Regions from separate parts of the Homo sapiens genome. Here region 1 is linked to region 2. The links are contacts of gene promoters, found by promoter capture Hi-C in blood cells and fetal thymus (Javierre and others, 2016). All regions are on one chromosome and are shown on one strand. Each heading gives the region's core, a stretch centred on a gene start or on the middle of the fragment in contact. The rest is flanking DNA. Distances are from core to core; before and after follow the strand shown.

Region 1 (7,024 bases), core at 3,028-5,527, 370 kb after region 2:
CCATCTTAAAAAAAAAGAACAAGAAGTGAACTTGGCTCTGCCACTCTGCCATACTCAAGCTGTGTGACCTTGAGTAGACGGTTGCCTTCTCTGAGCTCCAGTTGTCTCATCTGTGCAATGAGGTCATGATCCCTGCACCGGCCACCTCAAAGAGTCATTGCGAAGATCAAATGGCGTAAGAGAAGCATAAGTTCAGAAATGGTCAAGTGTTATACAAACACGATGGGTGGCAATCATTCTAATTTCCAATCACAGTAATAACGGGCATTGACTGAGCTCTACACTGTGCTAAACCCTTTCACACATAATCTCACTTAATTCCCACTAAACCTTACCAAATGTGTACTCTTAAGAGGCCCATTTTGTAGATGAGGACATTGGAGTTTAGAGGAATTTGAAATCTTGTCCAACCAAAGTCACACTCAACTAATAAGGAGAAAAGTCAGGATTTGAACTCAGGACAGTGGGACCTCCTCAAAGTAGGAGAGTCTCAATAGTTCCAGCCACAGACATGGGATTTAAGGGGAGCCCCAGATAGGCAGGTAGATGCCTTGAAGAAAACAAAAGAATTATTGACATTTCTTTTGCCCAGGAAATTCTGCTTCCTTCCCAACTCTACCCTAGTACTCGCTGTGACCTTGGAGCCTCCCAGGAGAGGGGAACCCTTGGGCTCTGCATCCAGGGCCCAGTTCACACCCAAAGTCAGAGAATCCCAAAGCATTCCCTTCCAGGGTCCAAGCCTGACCAAAGGCCATGCGTGCTCCTTTAAGGGACTGGCAAGGGCAAAGTGGGGGATGGATCCCCTTCAAGGTCACTGTTAAACAGATGGTAACAAAATCTCTTGGGAGAAGGTGGCTACTTGTCAACAGTCATAATGACCCTCAGGTATCTAGAGTCCTCTTGAGCTAATGAGATGTCTGAGATTGCCTCCTGTCCACTTTCCCAACGTTTGGCCCTCAGAACACTCCTTTGAGGTCAGAATCCTTAGCTCTACCTTACAGATGAGGAAACTGAGGTTCAAGGAAAGGAAGTGACTCATCTGAGGTCATACTGCAAGTAAATGGCAGAGACAGGACTCAAGTCTAAGATTCCAGAGTACAAATCCTCCTAACTCCCGAGGAATCCAGAGACAGGGGAGGTAGAGTGGCCCAGAACTGTTTCTGGTTGACAGCTCTGGTTCTAGGGAAAGTAGTCCAAAAAGGTTTCTGGTTGGTAATCCTAGTTCTAGCCCCACTTCTGCCATCAGCAGGCTGTGTGACCCGAGATAAGTCACTGGGCCTCAGTCGCTTTATGCCAGAGATTCCTCGTGAGCTCTGACTTTGCGTCCTTTATTCATGTCCTTGAGCCATAAAGATGAGGGTGTTCAGCAGCATCTGCAGGTTTTATAGAGAAGCAGCTGTGACTTCGCCTCCCTTGGGAAGCTTTTCCTGACTGCCCAAGGCTGAGTTATTATTGCTCATCGTGCTCTCACAGCACCCACAGCATTGCACTGCAACTTATCAGCAAACTCCCACAGGCCCCAGCGGCAAACATGCATGACTATGAAGAAGTTTGAATCTGGTGCAATAGGGAGTAGTGGGGACTGAGGCAAAGTAGAGAGCCCCTGGCCAAGGGGGCAACTCCTATTCAGCTCCAGCTTCTTCTCGTATCGCAGGAAGGCCAGCCCGGTGTTGCCAGATCTTAAGAGAAGCCAAAAAACTAGATTTTTAGGTGAAATCTGCTTTTTAAACATAGACGCAAAATATATTTGATTAAGGACTTTATAGGTATTGCAGCCCCTGGATTAGCCACATCTACTTTCCCCATTAGACTCTGAGTTACTTGACTGGGCACAGTGGCTCACACCTGTAATCCCAGCACTTTGGGAGGCCAAGGCGGGTGGATCACTTGAGCTCAGGAGTTCAAGACCAGCCTGGCCAACATGGTGAAACCCAGTCTCTACTCAGAAATTACCCGGGTGTGGTGGCGGGTGCCTGTAATCCCAGCTATTCGGGAGGCTGAGGCAGGAGAATCGTTTGAACATGGGAGGCAGAGGTTGCAGTGAGCCAAGATCGTGCCATTGCACTCCAGCCTGGGCGACAGAGTGAAACTCCATCTTAAAAAAAAAAATAGACTCTAGGTTACTTGATAGCATGGCAAGGTCTCCACCTGAACGCTGAGTGACCAACTCGGGGCCTGGTTCCTCACGAGTGACCAGTGATTGCTTTTTATTTATTTATTTTTTTTTTTTTTGAGACGGAGTCTCTCTCTGTCACCCAGGCTGGAGTGCAGTGGCATGATCTTGGCTCATTGCAAGCTTCGCCTCCCGGGTTCATGCCATTCTCCTGCCTCAGCCTCCCGAGTAGCTGGGACTACAGGCGCCCACCACCACACCCGGCTAATTTTTTGTATTTTTAGTAGAGACGAGGTTTCACCGTGTTAGCCAGGATGGTCTCGATCTTCTGACCTCGTGATCCACCTGCCTCGGCCTCCCAAAGTGCTGGGATTACAGACATGAGCCACGGTGCCCGGTCAGTGATTGCTTTTTAAATGTTGCGAGATCTTGCCCCAGCCAAAGCCCCTACTTCCAAGTTTCTGGTAACCAGAGTAACCCCACTGGCATGTATCAAGGGCTTATTTGCATGCCAGGCACTGCCTTAAGCATGTCACATATAAAATCTGACCTAATTCTATTCTCCCTCCCTCCCGAAGTGGTACATGCTATGATTCCATCTATTTTACAGATGAAGAAGCTATGGCTCAAATGGTCACACAACTTGCCCAAGGTCACACAACAGTGGTAAAAATTTAAATCGCTGGAATTCAAATTCAGTCAGTCTGACTCCCCAGATGTCTGCTTGCATTACAGTGATGTCAGACTGCTCCATGAGACCACCTTAAATATCACCTTGCGGTCACTCAGCCCCAGCCACAAGGCTCTCCAGGCACCCGCCGGGGCAGTGGGAACCAAGGCATGTGGTATGAAGAGATGAGAGACCGGATGCGGTGGCTCATGCCTGTCATCTCAGCATTTTGGGAGGCTGAGGAGGGCGGATCACCTGAGGTCAGGAGTTCGAGACCAGCCTGGCCAACATGGTGAAACTCTGTCTCTACTAAAAAACACAAAAATCCGCTGGGCCTGGTGGCAGGCACCTGCAATCCCAGCTACTCGGGAGGCTGAGGTGGGGAGAATTGCTTGAACCCAGGAGATGGAGGTTGCGGTGAGCTGAAATCGCACCACTGCACTCCAGCCTAGGCAACAGAGAGAGACTCCATCTCAAAAAAAAAAAAAAAAAAAAAAAACAGAGATGAGAACAACACTGTGCTGCAGAAAGTGGGGGCCTGAGGTTCAGAGAGGGGCACCTACTAGCCCACAGCTGTGCGGCCAGATCGAGCCAAAATCAGTATTTATCTTTGGCCCTAAGACCCCAAATCCCAGCTTCCAACAGAAGAAAACATATGGGGCAGAGAGAAGGAGCCAAGGAGAGGCCTGGTTATTGCTCATCCCATTGAAACAGTCAAACACTCTCTAAACTAGCTAAATGGTTCTGAAGGAAATGGGAATCTATTTTGTCTCCTGTCGCCAGGCCTGCAAATCCTGATATATCTCAGGCCACGGCAGCGAAGCGGATGGCTCAGCACTTGGAGACATGCCCACACGAGGCAGGAAGTAGGGTGGATGATTCAACAGGTACCTCTCTATTCTGAGAACTGGTCCTGTGATGGGTGAGTGTACATGCAGCTGAAATAAAAAATGATTTAGAATGTCGACCACTGGAACGCACAGCAAAGCCTCCCTTTCTTCCTGGGGGACTTGTGGCATTCTTTGGGGCTTTAATCTTTCCAGGTTTTCTAGTTCTGAAATTTTGCTGAGACAACAAGGTTCTTGGGAGGCTGGGGTGGGCTGGTGGCTCCAAAGCTTCCTTTCCTGCTGGCACAGCCTCCAACAGGATGATAAAATGGCTGCCGTCCTACCTGGGACACCATGTTCCTTGCCCTCAGTCTTCCTCATCTGCAGAATGGGGGTAGTGATCTCTGCCTAACCGAGACAGAAAAGTTTGGTACAGGTAGCACAGCTCCACAATTTCTTATCTGAAATCCTCGCGGCTCAATGTGCTTTATCAATTTATGTATTTTATTTTATATTTTATTTATTTTGAGACACAGTTTCACTCTGTCGGCCAGGCTGGAGTGCAGTGGCCCGATTTTGGCTCACTGTAACCTCCACCTCCTGGGTTCAAGCGATTCTCATGCCTCAGCCTCCCCCAGTAGCTGGGATTACAGGGACCCACCACCACGCCTGGCTAATTTTTGTATTTTAGTAGAGATGAGGTTTCACCCAGGCTGGTCTCAAACTACTGACTTCTGGTGAGCTGCCCGCCTTGGGCTCCCAAAGTGCTGGGATTACAGGTCTGAAGCCACCACATCCGGCCTCAATGTGCTTTATAACTTGGAATTCTTTGGATTCCTGAAAGGTTTTCGAGTGGATCTACCGCATATCAGGTGACATGCCAGTGAGCTCTGGAGCAATATTCCATAAACCCTTTAATTTTTCTGCAGCAAAATGTATAAATATTCACGCTAAGTGGGACAAAATAAAGACTATAAATAACCTCACATCCAATTCATATCAGGTTTGCCATCAAATGCTTGCCCCAATCTCATGAAAAAGCTTTAGATTTTCAGAGCTTTGTGGGTTTTGGAATTGTGCATGGAGAGTGCCAGCTTTGGTTTCAGCCACACCTGGGTTTCCATTCCAAATGCACCCTGACCAGCTGGCTCACCTGGGGCAAGACATTCCTCCTCTCTGAGCCTCAGTGTTCTCGTCTATAAAATGGGGTGATGATTCCTATGGTGCTTCTTAAAAGATAAGCAAGGAAACGCAAGTTGCCACTCTGGAAGAGAGGTTGGCCACACTGACCGGTCCCAATGAGGTGAATCCACCACAGGATATCCGGGATCTTTCTGCACACAAGGCGGTGGCAGACTCCCTTTGACCAAACTTACAAGGCTGACGCATAGCAGAAGATCCATTTATTATTGGAGAGCACAGTAAATACCCCACCAGCAGAATGGAGCACTTCCATCAGCCTAACCAGCACGTGCTTCCCTACAGCACAAGTTCCATGAGGATCCACGGTGTCACAGCACTGCTTGGTGGCAGGGAGTCAGAATAAACAACAGCATTAAGAAGCATTTATCGGCCAGGCACGGTGGCTCACGCCTGTAATCCCAGCACTTTGGGAGGCCGAGGCGGGCGGATCATGAGGTCAGGAATTCGAGACCAGCCTGACCAACGTGGTGAAACCCCATCTCTACTAAAAATACAAAAATTAGCCAGGCATGGTGGCAGGCACCTGTAATCCCAGCTACTAGGGAGGCTGAGGCATAAGAATCACTTGAACCTGGGAGGCAGAGGTTGCAGTGAGCCAAGATTGCACCACTGCACTCCAGCCTGGGTGACACAGCCAGACTCCATCTCAAAAAAAAAAAAAAAAAAAAGTGTTTATCACAGAGCAGCTTGAAGCCACCTCTGTTTTGGGAGGACAGTCTTACCCGGGGAATGGGGATGATGCTTGAGCCAGCGCAACCAAGAACCTGTGCCCTGGACAATGCCAGCCCTGGCTCTGTGACCATCCCCTTCCTAAATGTCCCCTACTGAGGGACACTTCCATTCACTCTTTCTCCAAAGTTGCAAGGTAACTGACCAGGTTCCCCTTGGTAAACTAGGATCGTATTCCAGGCCTCCCCCTCTGAGCCAGACTCCTTCAGAAACTTTGCCTGGCATTGATGTACCCCACACTCTTCAGTCATGTTTGCAGATAACCAAACTGATGACTCTTAGAAAAGGCCAGTCTGCATCCATGGCAGAGTTCATACCCCTAAGATGGCCACGACAATACCTCCCACTCCACATACTTGTTCCATAACTTTGTGCCTTACCCAGCAAGAAATTCAGTCTCTGTCCTCCCTCGCCCTTGACTCTAGGCAGGCTTGTGACTCACTTGGAACCAACAAGTTACGGGGATGGGAGAGATGCTGTATAACTTCGGAGGCTAGATCACAGAAGGCAGCATGGCTTCCAGCTTGTTCGCCAGAATACTTGCTCTGAACTCCCCACATGGACTCACTACAGAATGACCCTGAGGCTAAATGGAGAGAGAGAAAAACAGAAGCTCCACCCACACCAAACTATAATGCATGAGAGACCCCAGGTCAGAACCACCCAGCCAAGCCCTCTCCCAATTCCTGACCCACAGAAACTAAGAGATATAATAAAAAGACTGTTGTTGTTTTAAACCACTAAATTTTGGTGTGATTGGTTACACAGCAACAGATAATCAGTAACAGAGGACCATTTTACTTCCCTTCTGCCTAGGGTGACCATACCTCCCAGTTTAAGTGAGACAATCCCAGGGCATAATTATTGATAGTAATCCCTTCGTCACCCCCAAAGTGTCCCAAATTTGAATGGTAAGTCATATGGTCACCCTACATTTGGCCAAGTTCTCAGAACACACTTTAGATTCTGGCAACAACTCTTCACTCACAGCCTAGAATAATCGAAATGCCTGAGGTACCTAGCACAGTGTGTTGAAGAAATCAATGCTGGTTCCTTCTCTTTCTCCTAATTCTGTTCTGTCTGAATGCTCAGCAGTATTTTACCAAGAGATGGCTTCGGGCGCAGTGGCTCATGCCTGTAATCCCAGCACTTTCGAAGGCCAAGTCAGGTGGATCACCTGAGGTCAGGAGTTCAAGACCAGCCTGACCAACATGGTGAAACCTCATCTCTACTAAAAATACAACAATTTGCCAGGCATGGTGGCGGGCACCTGTAATCCCAGCTACTCGGGAGGCTGAGGCAGGAGAATCATTTGAACCGGGAGATGGAGGTTGCAGTGAGCCAAGATCTTGCCACTGCACTCCAGCCTAGGCAACACAGCGAGACTCTGTCTCAAAAAAATAAAATTAAATAAAAAGGAGATGGCTTCAGGAGCAGGCTCAGTCCCCTCACAGTCCCTGGAACACTCTCCCCCAACAAAAC
Region 2 (7,207 bases), core at 3,687-6,186:
TACTACGATGAGGTTTTGTAGTAGGGGACAGAGATCAGGGTTAACTCCCAAGATTCCTTTTAATAAAGCCATGCCTAGTTCTCACTGGTAAACTTTTCGTCTTGCAAGAATATGAGGATGATCCCAGAAATGCTTCCAGAAGAAAACAAATAGGATACTTTGAATGCAACAAGGGTCAGATTGGCTAAAGATTTCACATAAGAGACTCTGAACTTTAAATAGATGTCTTGAAAATACCAAGGGAAAATTATGCTTAAACCTAGAATCACAAAATGCCAAGTTTTCTTTGACATTTAAAGGACACAAAAAATTTTGAGTATGTAAGGACAAAGAAAGTTTTTCAGATCTTTTCTGAAAGAAATTACTCTAGGTTATATTTCAGGAAAAAAAAATCCAAGAAAGCTGAAATACTGAGGTAAATAAACCTGTAACACTTACAGATAAGTTAAAGAAGAATATTGAACTAAAACTCAGATGATTTTAATGTGGGAGTTTGCTGTGAGGCTGGGGTGGAGAATGGAAGAGAACTGAAAACTTGCTAAAGATCTCCTCTTGTTTTGGAAGATCATATATGTGCTAAATAAACCCAAATGCTGGTAGCAAATATGGTTTCTTTAAAAAAAATACTATTTTTTTTTTTTGAGACAGAATCTCACCCCATCACCCAGGCTGGAGTGCAATGGCATGATCTCGGCTCACTGCAATCTCTGCCTCCGGGGTTCAAGCGACTCTTGTGACTTAGCCTCCCAAGTAGCTGGGACTACAGGCATGCACCACCACGCCTGGCTAGTTTTTGTATCTTTAGTAGAGGCTGGGTTTCACCATGTTGGCCAGGTTGGTCTCAACTCCTGGCCTCAAGTGATCTGCCCACCTTGGCCTCCCAAAGTGCTGGGATTACAGGCGTGAGCCACTGTGCCCGACCCAGAAAATATAAGTTCAATACATTTTAAATCCCTAAAAACATAAAGATTAAAAATCACTAAGAATGAAGAGTAAGCATGGGGACAGGAGGATGACAGAGAAGGGATGGGAGGGACAGAGAAAGGAAGAGAGAGAAAAGAGAAGAGAAAAACCAAACACCTTCTTACTCAAAATAAACATGCACATATTACATTCCCAAGCTCATGAAGAAATTGAATGGCAGGGATAAACATTCCCAAGCTTATGAAGAAATTGAATGGCAGGGATAAAAACTAGGGGGGAAAAGCAAAATACAAATTCACTCCAGACAAAAACAATTTCATAGGTCAACCTGACAAAGACTTTTAAAAGAAGAAGACATCATGGCCAAGTAGAGGGTACTCCATACATGGAAGGAGAACCCTTAAGAAACCTATTTATGATTCAAACAAACAGATGAACGGATTAAAAGGGAAAAAAGGATAAGCTGATCTTGACAGACACTCCTAAATATTTAATAATAAACAAGACATTTCTGGTTAAATGAACAAACAAACCCTGGCAAATGAAGCAGTGGCGGAAACGTTGGCATCACTGAAAGTCTGCCAGAAACCAAAGGCGATGACAGAGTCAAGGGGGCACGTTAGTGTCCTCCTGTCAAAGCCTCACACAGGAGGCTCTCACTATTGTCTTTACTTCCAGTGGTCAATGTCCCTCAGATCATCTCTAAATTCAATGCAATCAACATGAAAATTCCAAAAAGGAATTTAATGGGCTTGGCAAACTGATTTTTATTTTTATTTTTGAGTTGGAGTCTCACTCTGTTGCCCAGGCTGGAGTGCAGTGGCGTGATCTCGGCTCACTGCAAACTTTGCCTCCTGGGTTCAAGCAGTTCTCCCACTTCAGCATCCCAAGTAGCTGGGATTACAGGTGCACACCACCAAACCCGGCTAATTTTTCGTATTTTTAGTAGACATGGGGTTTCACCGTGTTGGCCAGGCTGGTCTTGAACGTCCAACTTCAAGGGATCTGCCTGCCTCAGCCTCCCAAAGTGCTGGGATTATAGGCATGAGCCACTGTGCCTGGCCTTGGCAAACTGATTCTAAATTATAACAAACCAGAGATGAGAGACTTGCTCCATTCGTTAGAAAAATAATAAGGAATGTAGTGACAGCCAAATGGAAGAGAAAACAATAAAGAAAATAACGAAGTATGTATAGAAGCCTAGGATGTAATAGGGGCACTTCAAATCATTGAAGAGAGGAGAAATCACACACTCATAATTAGCAATGTTAAGACAATTAGATGGTAATTATTTTTAAAAGTTACTTTACACATTACTCACTTCTCTAAATTCTAGGTGGGCTAAAAATCTCAAAGTCAAAACCAAAATAGTAAAATTATTAAAACTCTTTCTGTAATCTTAGAGGTTTCAAGACACCAAACCAGAAACCATAAAGTAAAAAGAGGTTTACAAGACACCTGTGATCTTAGAGGTTTACAAGACACCAAAATCAGAAACCATAAAGTAAAAAGTAATGACAGGTTTGACTTAACAATGAAAACATTTTTATATGACATAAGACATCTTAAACATGGTAAAGAAAAAGATAAGTCATAACCTGGGAGAATATATTTTCAACATATATAAATGGATTATTAATACACGTAATAAATGAGTCACTCCAAAAGTTAAGATGTAAAAGAGAATTCAACAGGAGATGAACAAAAATTTCTCCACATTCATCATAAATGAAATCCAAAAGGCCAATCCACATATAGAAAATGTACAACTTCACCCATAATCAGGGAAAGAAAAAAATCACGCGACATTGAGAATTTCCATACATAATATTGGACAAAATTAGAAGATTGATAATTTCTCTAAAGGTAAATTGGACCCTTTATGCACTACCTTGGGGACGTCAGCTTAGCTCAGCTACTTTGAGGCTGATTTGACAATACCTATTATAATTTCTAACGCACAACCTCTGCACAGCAATTCTGCATTTAGTAATTTAGGCTACAGAAACACTTTCACAGATGTGGAAAAATTAGAAACAATCTAGGTGTCGATCAACGTGAGATTAGATGAATTGTGGTGTACCCATCCTAATAAATGCCACATATTTCTTAGGGTTACTTAACGAGTTAAATCTGTATGTATTATTGTAGAAATTTGGAAATATTCCAAAATACAATATTAAGTGAAAAAATTAGGAATATATATATATATATATAAATAAAATAATCCCATTTCTGTAAAAAGAAAAACTACCATCCTGGCACAGTGGCTCAAGCCTGTAATCCCAGCATTTTGGGAGGCTGAGACAGGCGGATCATCTGAGGTCAGGAGTTCGAGACCAGCCTGGCCAATATGGTGAAACCCTGTCTCTACTAAAAATACAAAAATTAGCCACGTGTGGTGGCTCATGCCTGTAATCCCGGCTACTCAGGAGGCTGAGGCAGGAGAATCACCTGAACCCGGGAGGCAGAGGTTGCAGTGAGCCAAGATTGCACCACTGCATTCCAGCCTGGGCGACAAGAGTAAAACTCTGTCACAAAAACAAAACAAAACAAAACAAAAAACAAACAGGAAAAGAAAAACTATATGCTTGTATCATGCTTAGAAAATGTTCTGGAAGAATACATGTGGTGAAAAGAATAAGCTATGGAACTAGGGAAAAGAAATTGCTGGGGACTTTGTCTCTTGTGCTACATAATTCTAGATTATTCTAATTTTCATGAAGGTAGGTTTCTGTGTAGTTGCTTGTTTAGCATTAAATACATTCCTTATACAACTCATGAATTATCCTGTGGTGTTGGTATATCTGTATACTGGAACAATATAAATAAAACTGCTGGATGAAAAAAAGAGTGACCAAAAGCTAATAGGAAATGTTTACTCATTATAAAATGATTACAAAGCAGGAAAGATGATAGAAAAAAATTAGAATTGGGCTGTACAAAAATATAACAGCAGGGTTTTTGAAGACTAAAAATTGCACATATGCAGCTTGTCGCTAGCACCTGTCTGACAAGGTCCCAGTGAAACACCTGCCCTTTCATTCTCAGGGCCAGTACACACACCTGCACACACCCTGAAGCAGGCACCCCAGATACCCACCCACCCAGCCAGCATACTTGGGTACAGAACACACACACCTGGGCCCCAACCCAAATCAGCAACCCAAATCAGCAGGGCAGAGTGTCATAACTAAAAAGACAGACAGACAGAGAGAGAGACTGAGAGAGAGAGAGAGAGAGAGAGAGATTGCTGGATAGTGCCTGGTATGTCTCTGGGCAAAGTGCTGGGCTCTTTCTCAAGTTCAAAGTGAGCTTCTCAAGCCACACCGCACCCAGCTCTGGGCCTCAGCGCAGCAAGCTTCCAGGTTTCACCCTCTGCCTCTTAGTCTCTCTGCACTCCTGCATCCCCAGACATCCGCACATGCACATACACACACAGGCACACACACAAATGCACACACGGGCAAACACACGAGCATGCGTTCTCTCTCTTTCTAAACCAAGATGTCAGGGACTATCCATGCTCCCCATTCCACAGATGAGGAGACAGAAGCCCAGGGTGGACAGGGGGTGCTCTCACTACCACCAGCATCTTAGTGACAAAGCGAAGACAGACTATAGGTGCCTGACTCCCAGGCCTGAGCTCTCTTCACCCCACTAGGCGTCCTTCCCACCAGGACCAACCAGATCCCGCTAGCGAGGCTGAGTCCTCCCCAGAGCTCTCCTACAACACCCAAGCAGCTTGGCACCCCTGGCTGCCTCCCCATCCACTGGCCGCCCTAGGAGTCTGGGCTCAGGTCATCCTAAGAGGCCAAGCCCTAACTCCTCCAAGTCCCCAGGGCACAGCTACCCACAGGACGCCCCCCAGGCTCCCCCTGTCCTTTTTCATCCTGGACTCCCCACATTCCCCCCTGCTCTGACCCCACCCCTCAGCCCTGCTCCTGGACGCCGGGCCATACCTCTGTGTGGTGGGAGAGACCAGTCTTCTTCTGGAGCCTCTAGGCAGAGTGAGCCTCCCACGTTTCCTATTTATGTTGATGTCATCAGGAAACAGAGAAGCAGAAAGAGGAAGCAGTGCCGGCCCAGGCCTACTTTGCTAATAGTGCACGTGACTTTTCTTACTTCCAGAAAGCCTCCTACTCCAATTTACCTTCCTATAAACTCCTAGGCCTCCTTCAAGCCTCAGCTGACGCAGGGCCTCCTCCATGCAGCCTTCCCTGACTGCTTGATGGGGATGCAGGTGGAAGTGGCTGCAATAACCATAGCTGGTTTGAGCCCAGAGCCAGACAGATCTGTGTTGGACTTCCAAGTCCACTGCTTCTTAAAGCGTGTCCTTGTGCAAATCATCTGCGTGTTACTTCCCCAAGCCTCGGGACATCCATCTGTCTGTTACTTTTGCAGAAGCATCTACAAACCTGGAAGGACTGTTGAGGGAATCCAGTGAGATTCTGTGCAGGAAGACCTTAGCTCAGAGCTGGCCACAGGAGAACCCCCTACAAGTGGTAGCTGGTGGCATGTTGATTTCCCCGATGTCCTCTTTGCCCTGCCGCCCCACCCCACCATGTGTCATATGGTCATGTGTGTTCATGGCTGTCTTTCTTCTGACACTATCTTCAGTGCTGGCTTGTGTCCGGCTTGCACTTCCCTCCCAAATACCTAGCACATGGCCTGGTACAGAGGAGAAATTGCACCTTTGACTGTGTGCAAATGAATAGATGAATGAATGAATGAATGAATGAATGAATGAATGAATGAGTGGCTCCCTGAGCACAGCAGGGCCAGCAGAATTAAGGTCAGGTGAGTGAGGCAGTCTCTCGTGCTCAAAATTTAAACAGGCATTTAAAAATTCAGTAATTGTTGTAAGTAATATTTTAATGCAATATGGTTTAAAAAAATCCCAACTGATGCAGAAACTATTCACGGTGAACCAAATATGAAAAGTTTGAATAAAGACAAGATGAATCACAGTGCCAAGACACAACAAAACGCAGTCATATTTCTCCTACATGGGGCTGCCTCCCAGGAGAAAGGGCAGCAGGCAGGAATGAGGGGAATGGAGGGCAAGAATGAGGGGAATGGAGGAAATGGAGGGGCAGGAACCTGCCTCGAAGCCACTGGAATTCTGGCCTGATTGTTGTTCTTTGCTTTCCTCCTACCAGGAAGGGCAGGGTTGGCCAGGAAGAGCTGGCAGGGCCTCACCCTAGCAGAGAAAGCCCAGGGTAGAGGAAGGCATGTGTGGTTCTCTCAGGCACTCCGGTCAGTGTGAGGTCCCTGCCTGGCATGGAAAAACCCTGCAGGGGCTTCTCCAGGGCTGGAGAGGATGGAATTAAAGTGACGTCCCGGGCTCTCTTTTCTCCCAGGTGTCCCCACTCTGCCTGTCTTTGCTGAGGTCCTCTGTGGGACTGGGAGGCTGCGGGCCTGGATGCCCTCAGGAGCACAGAGGATGCTGTCTGGTGGAGAAACGAAGAACCCGAGACTCTGAGTCAAAATCACTCCGGACACCAGACCCAAAATGTGAAGGAGCTTTAGGAACACCTCAGCCAATTCACTTGACTGACCCTTTCCTTTTAAAAGTCATCATAGAGCAGCAGGGGATAAAAATCTACATTTGAATGAGTCTAACAGAGTTCTCTCAATAAGTATTAAAAGTTCTAAGCGAGAAGAATCACACCGTCAGGAATTCATTGAATGTTTTCGTTTGTTTGTTTGTTTTTTCCTTCAGTGGTATGTAAAATACCGTGTCTTGCAATTGACGATCTTTTAGAGACTAAGAAACCCAAGAAAATGTTGGCAAGAACGTAGTACTCATAATGACCAGGGCTTGAGCATTTACGCTGTGAGCAGACCTTCGGCTGGGGGCTTCTCCATCTCTTCCCAATAACCTTTATGTAGCTGTTACTGTCTTCACCTTACAGATGAAGAAATTGAGGCATGAAAAGGAAGATAACTTGTTGAAAGTAGTAACTCGTATATGTTAACATTGCATTTTTTTCCATTTCCATTTTTATTCTGAAACTATTTCAAAATACAGAGCGTTAAAGGAATGATACAAAGAACTCTCACATACCCTTCATGTGGAAACCCCCTTTGAGTTTCGCTAAGCTTCTCAATAATGGTTTTGTAACAAGAAAATCCATCCGGGACTTTGCATTCTCTCTAAATGCATGGCTCTTAGTTGCCATGTCTTTCGGGCCTCCAGTTTGAAACAGATGCCTTGTTTTTTCCTCGACATCTCGAAGACTGCAGGTTGGTTGTTTTGAATAATGTCCCTCGATTTGGC

The links. Contacts are between HindIII fragments. The CHiCAGO score rates a contact against its expected background, and 5 or more counts as called.
Region 1: a fragment that was not itself captured here is called in contact with the fragment with the promoter of CSF2RB in region 2 in 1 of 17 cell types (endothelial precursors); the score reaches 5.9 in endothelial precursors.

What each region holds. Positions count from the first base shown.
Region 1 is chr22:36,538,853-36,545,876 of GRCh38, reverse strand. No RefSeq gene overlaps it. Among named protein-coding and RNA genes, the nearest start is that of EIF3D, 13 kb to the right of the region's middle. RefSeq lists a silencer at 1,181-1,475. The HindIII fragment of the contact is 753 bases long and covers 3,901-4,653 here.
Region 2 is chr22:36,911,357-36,918,563 of GRCh38, reverse strand. It overlaps CSF2RB (colony stimulating factor 2 receptor subunit beta), which reads right to left and starts at 4,936. Exons shown (of 14, transcript NM_000395.3): 1 at 4,887-4,936. LOC105373023 (a long non-coding RNA gene) reads left to right here. Exons shown (of 2, transcript XR_938230.2): 2 at 1-92. RefSeq lists an enhancer at 6,402-7,103. The HindIII fragment of the contact is 2,744 bases long and covers 4,288-7,031 here.